Linked DNA regions of Homo sapiens: region 1 is linked to region 2. Evidence: promoter capture Hi-C in 16 types of primary human blood cells and fetal thymus (Javierre and others, 2016). All regions are on one chromosome and are shown on one strand. The core of a region is centred on a gene start or on the middle of the fragment in contact, and the rest is flanking DNA. Distances in the headings are between cores, read along the strand shown. Region 1 overlaps ZNF195 (zinc finger protein 195). Region 2 holds the start of RHOG (ras homolog family member G).

The links. The method cuts DNA at HindIII sites, captures the fragments that hold promoters and counts their contacts. A CHiCAGO score of 5 or more calls a contact.
Region 1: a fragment that was not itself captured here is called in contact with the fragment with the promoter of RHOG in region 2 in 1 of 17 cell types (fetal thymus); the score reaches 5.4 in fetal thymus.

Annotation. Positions count from the first base shown.
Region 1 is chr11:3,370,854-3,378,253 of GRCh38, reverse strand. ZNF195 (zinc finger protein 195) reads left to right here. Exons shown (of 6, transcript NM_001130520.3): 2 at 6,551-6,677; 3 at 7,184-7,279. Among named protein-coding and RNA genes, the nearest start is that of ZNF195, 4.6 kb to the left of the region's middle. The HindIII fragment of the contact is 2,267 bases long and covers 1,806-4,072 here.
Region 2 is chr11:3,839,657-3,846,576 of GRCh38, reverse strand. RHOG (ras homolog family member G) reads left to right here and starts at 5,618. Exons shown (of 2, transcript NM_001665.4): 1 at 5,618-5,683. RefSeq lists silencers at 4,678-4,727, 4,768-5,037, 5,388-5,437, 5,488-5,877. The HindIII fragment of the contact is 3,094 bases long and covers 4,682-6,920 here.

The sequences.
Region 1 (7,400 bases), core at 1,690-4,189, 470 kb after region 2:
ACTGCAACCTCTGCCTCCCGGGTTCAATCAATTCTCCTGCCTCAGCCTCCCGAGTAGCTGAGATTACAGTCCTGCACCACCACGCCCGGCTAATTTTTGTATTTTTAGTAGAGACGGGGTTTCACCATGTTGGCCAGGCTGGTCTTGAACTCCTGACCTCATGTGATCCGCCTGCCTTGGCCTCCCAAAGTGCTGGGATTACAGTCGTGAGCCACTGCGCCCAGCCTGGACGGCACTTTTTAAGAGATTTGTTTTCTGTTTGTAATCATTCCACGTGACAGGAAAGCAGAGAATCATCCCCTGACGCTATTGTAAAAAGTCTTTGTGCCTCTCCTCCTTTTTATTTTCCCTAGGCACAGACACCTTACCAGAATGTCTTTGGTTTGAGGTTCCACTTTGGAAACTTGACAGGGTGATTTGCTCTCAGCCACCCTCTGGACTTTTTCCTCAGTTTCAGTATTGTCCAGGGATAACACAGGATGCCCACCATGGCCATGTCTGCTGGAGCATCTAGTGAATTTCAGGCCCTGGGTTATTTCTCAGAGGACAGCCTGAGGTATGAAGTGTGGCCTCTCCAGGGAGCAGCTGGATGCCCTGGGCTGAGAGAAATCTCCTGGTCTACTCTTCCTCTAAAGAGGTAACCACTTAGGACATTAAGATTGTCTTCACCCAACCCAACTTTCAATCCCTGGAGACACATGGCTGATCAGCCAATCACATGCCCCTGTCAGAGGGAAAAGACCGAAATCATTTCTGCCCTTTGGACTCTCAGATTTGTGAAGGGAGACAGAATGTTTCAAAGAGCAAGAAAAACTCCACCCCGTGAGATGGTGCAAAACCTGTAAAGCAAAATTCACCTGGGACACTCAGCGGGGCACAGTGCAGTGTATCATCGGGGGTGGCCGGTGAGCACTTCGGTGAACAGGATGGAGGTGGGAGAATCTCCCAAGGAATAGAATAGCCTGACTTGACACAAGTCATTAGCTGTGTCTGTGTTCCAGTCGGCACTGCCACTCTCTGTGTCTCCTTGAAATAATTTATTCACTTACTGCAATGTTGGATTTTTAATTGTAAATTTACATTTTATCAGTAGAGCTTGAAAGGTAAGAAAATACTTACAAAGGACATGAAATAGGTCAATTTCAGGAAAAAAGTTAAATATCTAGTCATACATACCTTTTTCTTCTCCAGAGTGATTAAGGGTAGAAAGTTACTTAGGTCTGTTCTTTTGTGGAAGATGATTTCCAACAGAATCCCAGGGCTTAGCTTTGGGAATGCTACCAGGGAACATAAAATGCTTCTTGGATGGCTGTGGAGAATGTTTACATTTTCTACAAAAAAATTATGGTAGATTACTTGGTAAATTGCATAGATTCATCAGAACATGAGCTCTTTTTGCAGGATGAATTTGTTGTCATGAGTATCTCTGTTTTATATCCTGTTCTCTAGATGTCTGAGCTTAATGCTAAGTTGTAGGAGATGGAACTTAGCACTTCTAAAAGTGTTCACATGTGATTGTTTACTATATGATTTGTTATGGAAATAGTTAAATGACAAGTTCATTGTCTGAAAGCAATAAATAATTTTGCTTTTTCTGTGGAGGTGAAAGTGTAAGTGCTTACAGTTTCCTTTTCTTCTGTAAACTGTTTCAGTGATTTTGTTGGATGTTTCCAACACTGGGTATTTTCTTATTTAAACCTAAGTGGATAACCCTGATTGGGAAGTTGAAGCCCAAGAACAGTCATTCCAAGCTAAGGCTAATACTGAGTCTGCAAAAGAAAGCAATCGAAGGCCTGGCTCAAGCTTGTCCAACCCACAGGCCTGGGCCACATGCTGGCCTGGGCTTTGAATGTGGTCCAACACAAATTCGTAAACTTTATTAAAACATTATGAGACTTTTTTGTGATTTTTTTTTTTTTTCAGTTATCAGCTATCGTTAGTGTTAGTGTATTTTATGTGTGGCCCAGGGAAGCCAAGATCGGACACCCCTGGCCTAGCTAGTGCTTCCCAAGGAGCCTCCCCTGCGGGTGCGCCAGACTGCTCACAGCAACCATGGAAGGAGCCTTTCTACAGAGAGAAGCTGCAGAGCCCGGGAGCACTGGGGACCCACAGGCAGATGCAGTTAGAGTTGGGATGGAAGGAAGCTGGGGAGGACTTCCTGGGTATGGAATCGTTATTATCCTGGGGCTGTTTCTAGACTTCGTCAAATAAAATAAATTTAGCTTTAGATAGGAAGTTATTGAACTCTAAAGGAGGATTGCAACAGGGAGAAGGTAGCAACTATCATGGATCTCATGGCCATAGAGGGCATCTGTGCAGGGTCACCAGGAACTCTCTCACCAGCACCTGGAGTCTTTTGGACATTCAGGAGTGCACTGTGCAGACGGGGCTCAGGCTGACAAAACGGTCTATCTGTGCTTCTGTTGTAGAATAAGAGAAATGAGTCACCCAGGGTTTGTTCCTCCCCTCAGAGAAGAAACCTCATTGGTATCCACATGGGAATTACTCCAGTTTTTCTGGTACTTCAGTAAAAAACAAAAATGAGATCTGGAGATTCAAACTGATAAACTAATTGATTCCATCCTGTGTAGCCATTAGGAAAACAGAGAAGGCAGCCATGGTCCCCGCAAGCCAGAAACTTTTCCATTTCCAGTAACTGGATAAATCATTGAATTCAGCGTCTTGGGGTCAGCATGAAGAAGGGAGTGGTCAAAGGGACTTCTGCTTCATTTGGGCCATTTTCCTGATGTGGTTGTTGTGAGTTCTGATGTCATATTGAAGGGATATTCAGACAGACAAGGTGGTGGTGGTATTATTTCTGTTGCTTTTGCCCGGCTAAAAATAAATATTTAGCTTCTACCATATCTGTCCTAGAAAATCCTAAAGGTTTCGGTTAAATTGCTTGTTATTTTATGTTATAAAATAGACAAGGAAGTGGCCAAAATAGATTAAAATTATACAAACCCTGGGATTTAAATTTTGGGGTGGGGGGCAGTTTTAGGAAAAACAGAATTGTAAATACTCTAGTAGCATAGAGAGCAGAATCCTGCGTAGGGCCCTCTCCCTGCCCAGACATGCCCAGACTCTCCTTCTCTGAGTCTCATCCAGGTCTGGCTTCACCCTGGACTCTCCTCCGACAGAGTTAACTACAGAATTAAATCAGAGTTTTGGGTTTAGCTACAGAGTTAAATCAGTTTGGAGTTTAACTACAGAGTTAAATCAGAGTTTGACTCCTGCTGCCTCTCCGGAACTGATACACAGAATTTTCGGAAACCCCAAAGCAGATAAATGGGATCAAAGGACTCTCTATTTTGGAGCCTTAATTTTTCTTTTTTACTAACACCAGCGCTGTTAGAGACATCGTATCCAGCAAGCTCTTTCTCAGTCCTGTGGGTCTAATAGTTGCTTCACAAGCCACAAGAAAGTGAAGATAAACACAACAATGGAAAGTGCCTTTGCACTACACTTCATCCCCTCTGTATCCCTTCCATTGGTCTATCTGGAGCTTTTATCACTACACTTTTAAAACGTTAATGATAGGAAAATAGAAGAGGAACCACAAAGCCTGGTCCCTTCATCTATATCTTGAGAGTTGCAGGACACTTGGTTCCATCACCCAGGGTGTGGTGAGGATTAACTCACATGACGTGAGGTGCCCAGCACAGTGCTGTCACATACATCCGAGCACCCCGTGCCTGCTTAATAAACACTGCATTCATACGTGTGTACACATTGTTTTCCAAATGCAGACAGACTCAGACATTGCTTCCTTCTCCAGCCCTGGAAAACTTTAAAGAGCCAGGAAATAATGTAATCTTTCAGAATAGAGATTGGCTGTCTCCATTTGCACCAGAAGAACTTATGTTGTGGTCAGAGGGTTGGGTGTAAGGGACTGTGCTGGGGCTGCTTTCTTTAGCTGAGTGTTAATGATCACAAGTCTTGGGGGAGCAGCATCACCATTAATGGCAGAACTGTTAAAAAATCCAACCCATGAACCCCTTTGAAATCTTCAGAATCACATGACTTAGAGTGGGGCCAAAATTACCAAAAGATTCATATGCACATTGAAGCTTGAGAAGCAAGGCTTAGCTAAATGGTTCTCAGCCTGGCTTCTAATTAAATCACATGGACAACTCAAAAAAAGGCCCTCACCTTTGCCCTCACAGATTCTGCCTATTGGTTTGGGTGGAAGCACCAGTGCTGTTTAAGTCACATGCATCATGGGATTCTAAGGTGTGGCCAGAATCAGTGATGGGGGGTTTCAGATGCATTTGTACGAGTTGAGCTCAGCCTTGGTTCCAAAGGGAGGTCACAGGGCCTTCTTTGCCTAGGTTTCAGAGGCCAGCTCAGTGCAGCTTATACTCCAATTGCTGAAGCAGAATTGCTGTTGTTTAGCAGGAGAGGGAACCTGAGAGCAGGAAGAGAGAAAGTCACATTTTGATCTCCATGTAGAAGTTTACTGTTCCTGAATCTCTTTTATAAAGAACAGAAAAGCGTGGACTTTTTCTGTATTTCTTGGTCTTTCTGTTGATGGTTGTGGTGGTAGCAGGTGAAGGGGTTGTGCTAACACCTTTAAAGGCATATTCTCACGATGCAGGTGTGATTTGTCCAGAGAATCTTTCCTAAGAGGAAATCCCAGAGAAGCAGGAGAAAGAGAAAGAAATGGCTGGTGCTCAGGTAAATGCATCTCAGGTCAGGGGTTGTGTCCACTTTTGCTCCTGAAATGTCATGTGTTTAGAATTTGGAAACCTTTACTTCTCTACTTGTGGTGTTTCTCCATAGTAAGTTTGTTTCAACTACTTTTTTTTCTTATAATAATGAAGGGTCTCTGAAAATATTTGTTTTCTATATACCAAAGCCGTCTCTCTGTTATCTTCACCTTGACTTCTTATATGCCATGAAGAATTCTTACCATGACTTTATGACCTGCAGTATTAAAAAGTTCACTTCGTGGCACTGAACTTGTGGATACCCAGGATTCCTCTTGAGGATGGGGTGGGTTTTTGGATATCAGCAAAGAAGGGAAATGTGCACTCTTTAGGTTTCATCTGGATGCTCCATAAGCTGCATGCAGAACAGGACTAAGAAAATAAACATTTAAACCAGATGACATTTATCTCTCAGAATAACTCAAAGCATTCTGGAAAAGAGAAAAATGAAAAGACACTTGCTTTTTAGAATGCTAAAGAAAGACTCTTTTAATACACTATTAGAGATTACTGCTGGGCATGGTGGCTCATGCCTATAATCCCAACACTTTGGGAGGCCTAGGTGGGCAGATCGCTTGGGGCCAGGAGTTCGAGACCAGCCTGACCAACATGGTGAAACCCCATCTCTACTAAAAAAATACAAAAATTATCCAAGCGTGGTGGCACATGTGGGTAGTTCCATCTACTCCGGAGGCTGAGGGACGAGAATTGCCTGAACCAGGGAGGCAGAGGTAGCAGTGAGCCGAGATCGCGCCACTGCACTCCAGCCTGGGCTACAGAGTGAGACTCAGTCTCAAGACAAAAGAAAACAGATTACAGAACCTGGGAGATATTTGTCAGAACCTGGGAGATATTTGTCAGAACATAGGAGATATTTATTTGTCAGAACCTGGGAGATATTTATTTGTCAGAACCTGGGAGATATTTGTCAGGACCTGGGAAATATTTGTCAGAACCTGGGAGATATTTGTCAGAACCTGGGAGATATTTATTTGTCTCTTGAACTTTGCATAACACTAAGGTTTCGGTATGATTTGATTCAGATTATAATTGACCTTTTGGCCAATATCACACCAGTAATATGTCCTTCTCTGTGCATTGGCACGTGATAAAAATCTGTCCTATTACAGTTGATATTAGTTTTATTCAGTTGTTTAAAGAGCTCCCTGACAGATTTTCCATTGTGGAGTTTATTTTTTTCTCTTTTAAGTACCTTGAGGAGATTTACTAATTAATGTGCATAAATAATCACATTTAATCTGAAAGGTTTTGCTTCTTAGATTCTTTTTGCATATGCCTTGCTTTAGAAGATGAAGAATCTCATCTCTCTTTATGGTTTAGAAAAACTGGGATAAACCCAAGCTTGCCACTTACAGGATTTTTGACAAAATATTGTCCTTGGGCCCAAAGGACTGGCATCACTGGTGAGCGCGTTAGAAATTCGGAAACTCAGCCTTGACCTCCGATTTCCTGAAGCAAAATCTGCACACTAGTTTATTGGACACATGAAAATTGGAGAGGCAGCTTCTAACTCACCATGACTTTTCTGCCTGCGAAATATACACAGCTTATTCATGTGACGTAAATGTAGCACTCAAAAATGGACATGCCTTTGTTGATGCCCTTAATGTTATACTTGTTATCAACCAGAAAAGTATTGTATATACACTGCTTATGTGGCTCTCAGGCAATTCTCTTTCCTCAGAGTTAGAGAGTATTCTTCTGCTAAGAATTACCTTATTGTATAATTTCAGTCACTTGTGTAAGTCAGAACCAGTTCTCTTCACTCGCTCATTTCACCTCGAATCAAGTATTTGTTATTGTTGTTGTTTCTTCTTCAGACTCTGTTGACGTTCAGGGATGTGGCCATAGAATTCTCCCTGGAGGAGTGGAAATGCCTGGACCTCGCTCAGCAGAATTTGTACAGGGATGTGATGTTGGAGAACTACAGAAACTTGTTCTCCGTTGGTGAGGATAACTTCAATACGTAGTTCCTCCTATGCCCTAAAGAGTTCCTTTCGTTCCTCTGCGGAATGTTTTTTGGGAGTTTCTGCGTTGCATGAATGAGTTTCAGATCCCTGCTTTTAAGAAAAACATGGGGAATAGTTGATGTAAAAAAAAAAAAAATCTTCAAAATGTGGTTCATCTTGACATAAACCTTCCTTTTTTTTCAGCTGATCTGTATCTTTCACTCTAGTGACAATTCCAGAAATTCAGTGGCATGAAATATTGTTGCCCACAACTTAAAGTCAAATTTCCACCACCAATTTTTTATGTCAGCAGTACTGAGTGGTGAAACTAAGAACCCACAGATTTAAAATACTTACTGAATATTCTAAAGGTGATGTCAGGAAGCATAATTTTGGGATTAATTTTCTAGAATCTTATATAATGTTCACTCTACTAAGCACAGTACAAGGTTGATAATTGGAGAATTTCAGCAAGAGTAATGTCACTTTTTTCTAATAAAACAGGTCTCACTGTCTGTAAGCCAGGCCTGATCACCTGCCTGGAGCAACGAAAAGAGCCCTGGAATGTGAAGAGACAGGAGGCAGCAGACGGACATCCAGGTGGGTGGGAATGAACGAAGCAGGTAACCCAGGTGAGAGGTCCAGAGGTCGAGGAGGAAGCCAGACCTTAAAATGTGGTTTGAGAAGCTCTGCCCTAGTGGAGATGGTTTCTGAGAGCCTG
Region 2 (6,920 bases), core at 4,369-6,868:
AGGTGGGCGGATCACCTGAGGTCGGGAGTTCGAGACCAGCCTGGCCAACATGGTGAAACCCTGTCTCTACTAAAAATAGAAAAAGTTAGCTGGGCGTGGTGGTGCATGCCTGTAATTCCAGCTAATCAGGAGGCTGAGGCAGGAGAATTGCTTGAATCTAGGAGGCAGAGGTTGCAGTGAGCAGAGATCGTGCCACAGCACTCCAGCCTGGGTGACTCTGTCTCAAAAAAAAAAAAGAAATAATGAAGAGGAAACTGTGTTCTACTCCTGAGGCTGGCTGAGAGAGGGAAGACCAAAGGATCAAGAGGAGCCCCAAGAAGGCTGAGTCCCCTGGAGCCACAGCAGAGGCAAAAGAGAATTCAGATTTAAGGGTAACCTAAAGGGGCTGGGACTGGGGCTAAGCCAAGACCCCTGTGGATCACTGGTGAGCTCCTGGAGCTGGAGTTCAGTGAGGAATAGGCTGGGAAGACCCCTTTGGAATCCTCAGGGCACTGGTGAGATCAGTTCAGGGCCTTTCTCCTCTCACTCTCTGTCCCCTCCTCTCTCAGGGAAACTAGTCAGCTTTAGCATTTTGACATTGAGAGAGAGGGAAGAATTAACCAAGGGCGGGGGGATACCTGAAAACATCAAGGGAGTGTGGAGAAATTAACTAATGTTTATTTGCTGTACCCTAGGGCAATTTACGAGGGCTCCACATGCATTATGTCGTTTAATACTCACAATCTCATGCAGCACTTGCCAGTCCCATTTTATTGTTTTTTATTTGTTAGTTTTTAGAGACAGGATCTCACTCTGTCACCCAGACTGTAGTGCAGTGGCATGATCATAGCTCTCTGCAACCTCAAACACCTAGACTCAAGTGATCCTCCCACCTCAGCCTAGCAAGTAACTGGGACTACAGGCATGTGCCACTATGCCCAGCTAATTTTTGTGTGTGTATGCAGATGGGGTCTTGCTATGATTGCCTAGGCTGGTTACAAATTCCTGGGCTCAAGTGATTGTCCCACCTTGGCCTCTCAAAGTGCTAGGAATAGAGGCATGAGCCACCACGCCCAGCCATTCCCATTTTAAAATGAAACTAAGACTGAGAAGTTGGCTCTGTTATATGCTCTTACAGTATTCTGTACTTTTTTTTCTGGAGAAATGTTCTTGCTATGTTGCCCAGGCTGGTCTGAAACTCTTGGGCTCAAGCAATCTTCCTGCCTTATCCCCCTGAGGAACTAGAACTGGAGACAAACACCACCATGCCCAGCAGCACTCTACTTTTGTATGATTACCTGTTTAAGGTCTATCTCCCTTACCAGTTATATCAGGGCAGTTTTCTCTACTTCATGATTGGCATGTAACACTATGTCTGGCACCAAGAAGATTTTCAATAAATATACATTGAATATTTATGAATATGGGAGATCTCATATGACTAATCAAAGGCCATACTGTGTTACAACCATCCTAATCTGTCTCCAAAACCTGTCTGTGATCTCTATTCTACCCCACCAAGTGCTTTCATATTATCTCACTTCTAAATGTCCAGGTTCAATGTCCTTGTCTCTCAGCTGCTTGTAAGCATACATGCACACCACCTACCAAGAACTCACCTATTCAGGGAAAGCTAGTGAGAGAGTAGAAAAAAGAAACAGCCCATTTGGGATTGTGCCCTCTTCCTACCCTCTTCAAGTCAGCATTTCTCCTCCTTCAAGAAGCCTTTACGGACAGCTCCACCTGTCCACCTGCTTCCCTTTCCTCTGGCCCTTCCCATACCTGTGCCACAAAAGTGTTTCCAAGTTACCTGGAGTCTGATTGTTCTACACATATTAGTACTTTATTAAAGCAATTTAACATTATGGATGTTTAGTGAAGGCAAATGTGTGCTCAGGCCTGCCTCTGTCAGGCCCAGTGGGTGGACACAGAAATGAATCAGACGCAACCTCAAAGGACTTATAGTCAGTGGGGGAGACAGATATTAGGCACAGATGCAATTTACTAGAGCACAAAGCATGATGACCTAAATGGTATTAAAGAACTATGAGCAACATGCTATATGCATAAACCTTAATTATTATTCTGAAGAGTGTATCATAGAAGATGAGAGCTCAAAGGTATCATCTAGTTCAACCTCTGTTTTCCAGTGGAAGAGTTTGAGACAGAGAAGGGTGGGGCCTAGCCTAAAATCTCAATCTGTCTGTCTGAGCCAAGACAGACTTCAAGTTTGTTTGTGGTTTTTTTTTTTTTGTTTTTTGTTTTTTGAGATGGAGTCTCGCTCCGTCGCCAAGCTGAAGTGCAGTGGCGCGATTTCGGCTCACTGCAACCTCCGCCTCCTAGGTTCAAGTGATTCTCCTGCCTCAGCCTCCCGAGTAGCTGGGGTTACAGCCATGCACCATCACACCCAGCTAATTTTTGTATTTTTAGTAGAGACGGGGTTTCACCATGTTGGCCAGGATAGTCTCGATCTTCTGACCCCATGATCCGCCTGCCTCAGCCTCCCAAAGTGCTAAGATTACAGGCGTGAGCCATTGTGCCAGGCCAGACTTGAAGGTTTTCTAAAGCCCAGCCTTGGACTTTTTCCTCCTCTTCTGATAGCTTCATATGCAAAGTCCTATACTTCATCAGACCATGAGATCTTTGAGGCTGGATCAGGTTCTCCCTCCTAAACCAGGGCTAGGCAAGCCCAAGACACTTACAGGCTCAGGAAATGCAATCTGATCCCAGGCTGCCAATCCAGTCTTTCAATCTGCAGCACCTAATGTGCTCCCTACTCTTATCACTATGTCCTTAAATTGATTTTCAAATATTTTTTGCAGGAAACTTAAAAACAAAATTAAACTCTCTATGCAGAATACTAGTAAATAAATCAGATAAAAAGCAAACCTTCTCTGGTTGAAGGGGAGAGAGTCCATAGCTCCACTGTTTTTCCTGTTCTTAAGTCCTGGGAAGGGAATTCTAGGAACACATATCAGAAACATTTCTTCTGGAGCTGGATGTGGTGGTGTGTGCCTGTAGTCCTAGCTACTTGAAAGGCTGAGGTGGGAGGATGACTCGAGCCCAGGAGTTCCAGGACAGCCTAGGCAACATAGTGAGAGTCCCATCTAAAAAAAAACAACAAACAAACCAGAAAAAACTTTTGTGCTGGGACATAATCTTTAATGGCGTCATAGAAGCTGCTTTAGCGTATGGTGTTCCTCTGAACCCTGTCATTTCTGGGGCTCACAATCCTTTCTTTATTCATGAAATACCAAGCACCCCAATGTCAAGTGGTCCCAATGGTGTATGGATGGGAATGAGAATTTCCCCTTGTGCCTCCTGCTCTCATGTCCTCCACAAAGAGGAGTTTGTCTGAAGGGCTACAGGGACCAGACCGAAGAGGAGACAAGAGACCCAAACACTGCCTGGCAGGTCAGGGGAGGCTTCTAGAGAAGGATCTTTGAGAAAGACTTCATCCACACAGTCATTCACCAGCCTGAATCTGATAAAGCCTCTGTTTTTGAGGATGATACAGTAGCCACCAGCTACACATGCTATTGACCACTTGAAATGTTTCCAGCCAAATTGAGACAAATTGTAAGTATAAAATACACACCGCATTTCAAAGACTTGGTACAAGAAAAGAATGCAAAATATCCAGTTAATTTTTATAACCAGTAATTTTTATGTTGATTACCATGCTAAAAGATAATATTTTGAGGCCGGGCGCAGTGGCTCATGCCTGTAATCCCAGCACTTTGGGAGGTTGAGGCGGGCAGATCACGAGGTGAGGAGTTCAAGACCAGCCTGGCCAACATGGTGAAATCCTATCTCCATTAAAAATACAAATATAAGCCAGGCATGGTGGCACGTGCCTGTAATCCCAGCTACTTGGGAGACTGAGGCAGGAGAATCATTTGAACCCAGGAGGCGGAGGTTGCAGTGAGCAGAGACCGCGCCACTGCAGTCCAGCCTGGTGACAGAGCGAGACTCCATCTCCAAAAAAAAAAAAAAAAAAAAAAAAAAGATAATACTTTGGCTATGGCTAAGTCAAATATAGTTAAAATTCATTTCGTTTCTTTTTACTTTTTTTGAAATGTCATTAATAGACAGTTTTAAATTACTTACGTGGTTCCTATTTATTTTTTTAAAAATATAAGTAGGCTGGGTGTGGTGGCTGACGCCTGTAATCTCAGCACTTTGGGAGGCCAAGGCAGGTGGATCAACTGAGATCAGTAGTTCGAGACCAGCGTGGCCAACAGGGTGAAACCCCGTCCCTACTAGAAATACGAAAATTAGCCGGGTGTGGTGACATGCACCTGTAACCCCAGCTACTCGAGAGACTGAGGCAGGATAACTGCATGAACCTGGGAGGCAGAGATTGCAGTGAGCCGAGATCGTGCCACTGCACCCCAGCCTGGGTGACATCGTGAGACTGTCAAAAAATATGTGTGTGTTTGTGTTTATAGAGACAAGGTTTCACCATCTCTGTAATTACAGGCAGACGCCACCGCGCCAGACTCTTAGGGTATGATATTTTTAAAAGATATTTGTTTAGTGTTTGAGATACGCATTGACAACAGGTCTTTTACACCCATTCTCATGTTATCTTCAAAACTACGGGGTGAAATATAATTATTCTATTTTACCAAAGACAGATTTGAGGCTCAGAAAGGTTAAGCTATTTATTCCTGGAATCAATCCGTTTATTTGAAAAGCTTCTGGAAGACAGGGATCCTGTCTTAAACGCTGTGTTTCTTCACAGCACCTAGCACTTAGCTCTCTCCACGTGGTAGGCGCTCAGAAACTTTGTGCTGAACGAAGGATATGGATTCTCAAGTCAAAGCTCCGAGCGCAAAGCCAGGGAGCGAAGCACCAGAGGGCGCCCATGAGCCCGCCCACCCGCGGGTCGCCGGGGCCCAAGCTGGACCTCAGGCCTGGGTGCGGCTCTTCAGCCCCAAGCAGCTGCGCGCCCCAGCAGAACAGGGGGCGAGGGGGCGAGGGAAGCCCCAAGTCCTCCGTCCGCCCCGCCCCCTCCCCAGAGCCAGGCCTCGCAGGGCTGCACGGTGCTGAATGACGACTCGACATCCTGTTTTTGGGGCCCGCGGCTCCGCCTGCGCCTCTGCTGATCTTGTCTTTCCCTTGGGTGCTGACGCCAGCTCCTCTTCCCCCCGAGTCTCCCCACCCTCCCCAGGGGTCTGGGGCCTTCCCACTGCTGAATCACCACCACCTCGCACTCCCCCGGGGCTCAGGGCAGGGGCGGGGACTGCCCCAGCCTCGGCCACCACTCTATCCCTGGGGTTGACTGAAGGGACCAGGCCCAGGGGCGCCTTTCTCAGCATCTTCCCGCGGAGGCTGGTGGGGGCGGGATGGGGGGAAGAGGACGAACGCCTAGCGCCCAGGGTAGGGCCTCCAGGGGTAGGGTGGCCAGGAGGAGGCGGAGAGACTTGACCTTGGGAGGCCTGACTTACTGACCGCAGGGGCAGCGGACTGGGAGGGGAACGTGGCAAGCCCGGGACTGGGCCGGGGGCGAGGCTGGGGGCGGGCCGGGGCTGGAGAGGGGGAGATCGGCCCTCGGACTTCCTGGTCGGGCCCCGCCCCGGCCCGCCCCGCCTCGCCGGCCCGCCCCCCCCACTTCCTCCGGCCTCCCGCTCTCACTTCCTTCTCGAGCCCGGAGCCGCTGCCGCCGCCCCCAGCTCCCCCGCCTCGGGGAGGGCACCAGGTGAGGCCCGGCCGGGGCTGGCGGGTAGGGGTCCGGGGGAGGAGAGCCCGGCCGGCCCAGGACTCGGCGCGGGCGCCGGCTCATGAGTTTGCTGGCGGAGGCCGCGGGCGGGAGCTTCTCGGTTCAGTCCAAGTAGGGCGGGCGCGGCCGGCCGGGCGGGGCGGGAACGGGGCCACTGCGAGCCGGCGGAGGCTCGGCGAGGGTGGCTTCCCGGCGGCTGTACCGCCTCTAGGGAGCCGAGAGGGACCCCTGAGGTCGGAGGGTCCCGGGCTCCAAGATAAGTGTCTCTGAAGTGGAAGAGCTCAGAGCTGGGAGATCGGACGCAGGTGGGGTGTCCTCAGAAGTTGGTGGGGGGGGTGTTGAGAAGTGCGTGAGGGGAGAGGGCTTCTGGGCTGGAAAAGGCGCTCCCTCTGCTCTGGCAGTTGTGACACTTGGGGTGAGAGGGGCGGTGTCTGGGGCCTCCGAAAGCTCTCTCCCTGTCAGATGGATGCTAATACAGACCCACACTCGGTCTGCAGCCCCAAGGCCCTCTGCACTCAGGAGGACCCGGGTTGGGTGGGGGAGCCCCGCCGACCCCAGTCGTTGTCTGTATGTCTGTTTTCCTGAGTCCCGACCTTACCTGGAGCCAAGCAGTAGGTATTTAGTGAGCAGACGCTGTTCCTAGCTGACCAGAGCCTGGCCTTGCTCTTTTGGGAGTAACTTGGTCTTGCCCTGTAACTGGAAGTGGAAGGACTCTCATTCAGAGGTACTGATAGTCCCTGACAAGTTTTTGTTGTGTCTTTTGGGGACAATTGAGAACCATCTCCTAGTGTTCCTCTTCATTCTTAGTCCCTGAATTATACACATGCTCCTGTCGTCTCCCTCCACACCTTCTTTAGTTTCTACCCACAAATCCGCCATCACTCTCTTCTCATCCCTTCCAGTCTCTTTTCCTCCAAACATACGGTCATACCTAGGCCTTGACCTGTCTTCACCTACCCTGCCCCATGTTCGTCTTGGTCCTCTGCAACCTGCCCCATCCCTTCCCTTCCCAGCTCTGGCACCCACACACATGCACCTCCTGGTTTCTTCCATCACCCCTCATTCCTTTTGAACCCTCAGCCTGTCACCCTCTCTGTATCCTTCCCTCCCACCCACTTATCTCCAGCTTTGGAATCAGTTGTTGAAGACTTAGTGAGTTCTAGAGTCTTTTCAAACCTCCCTAGCTTGGAGAGGCAGTCTGCAGCCTCCCAGTGAT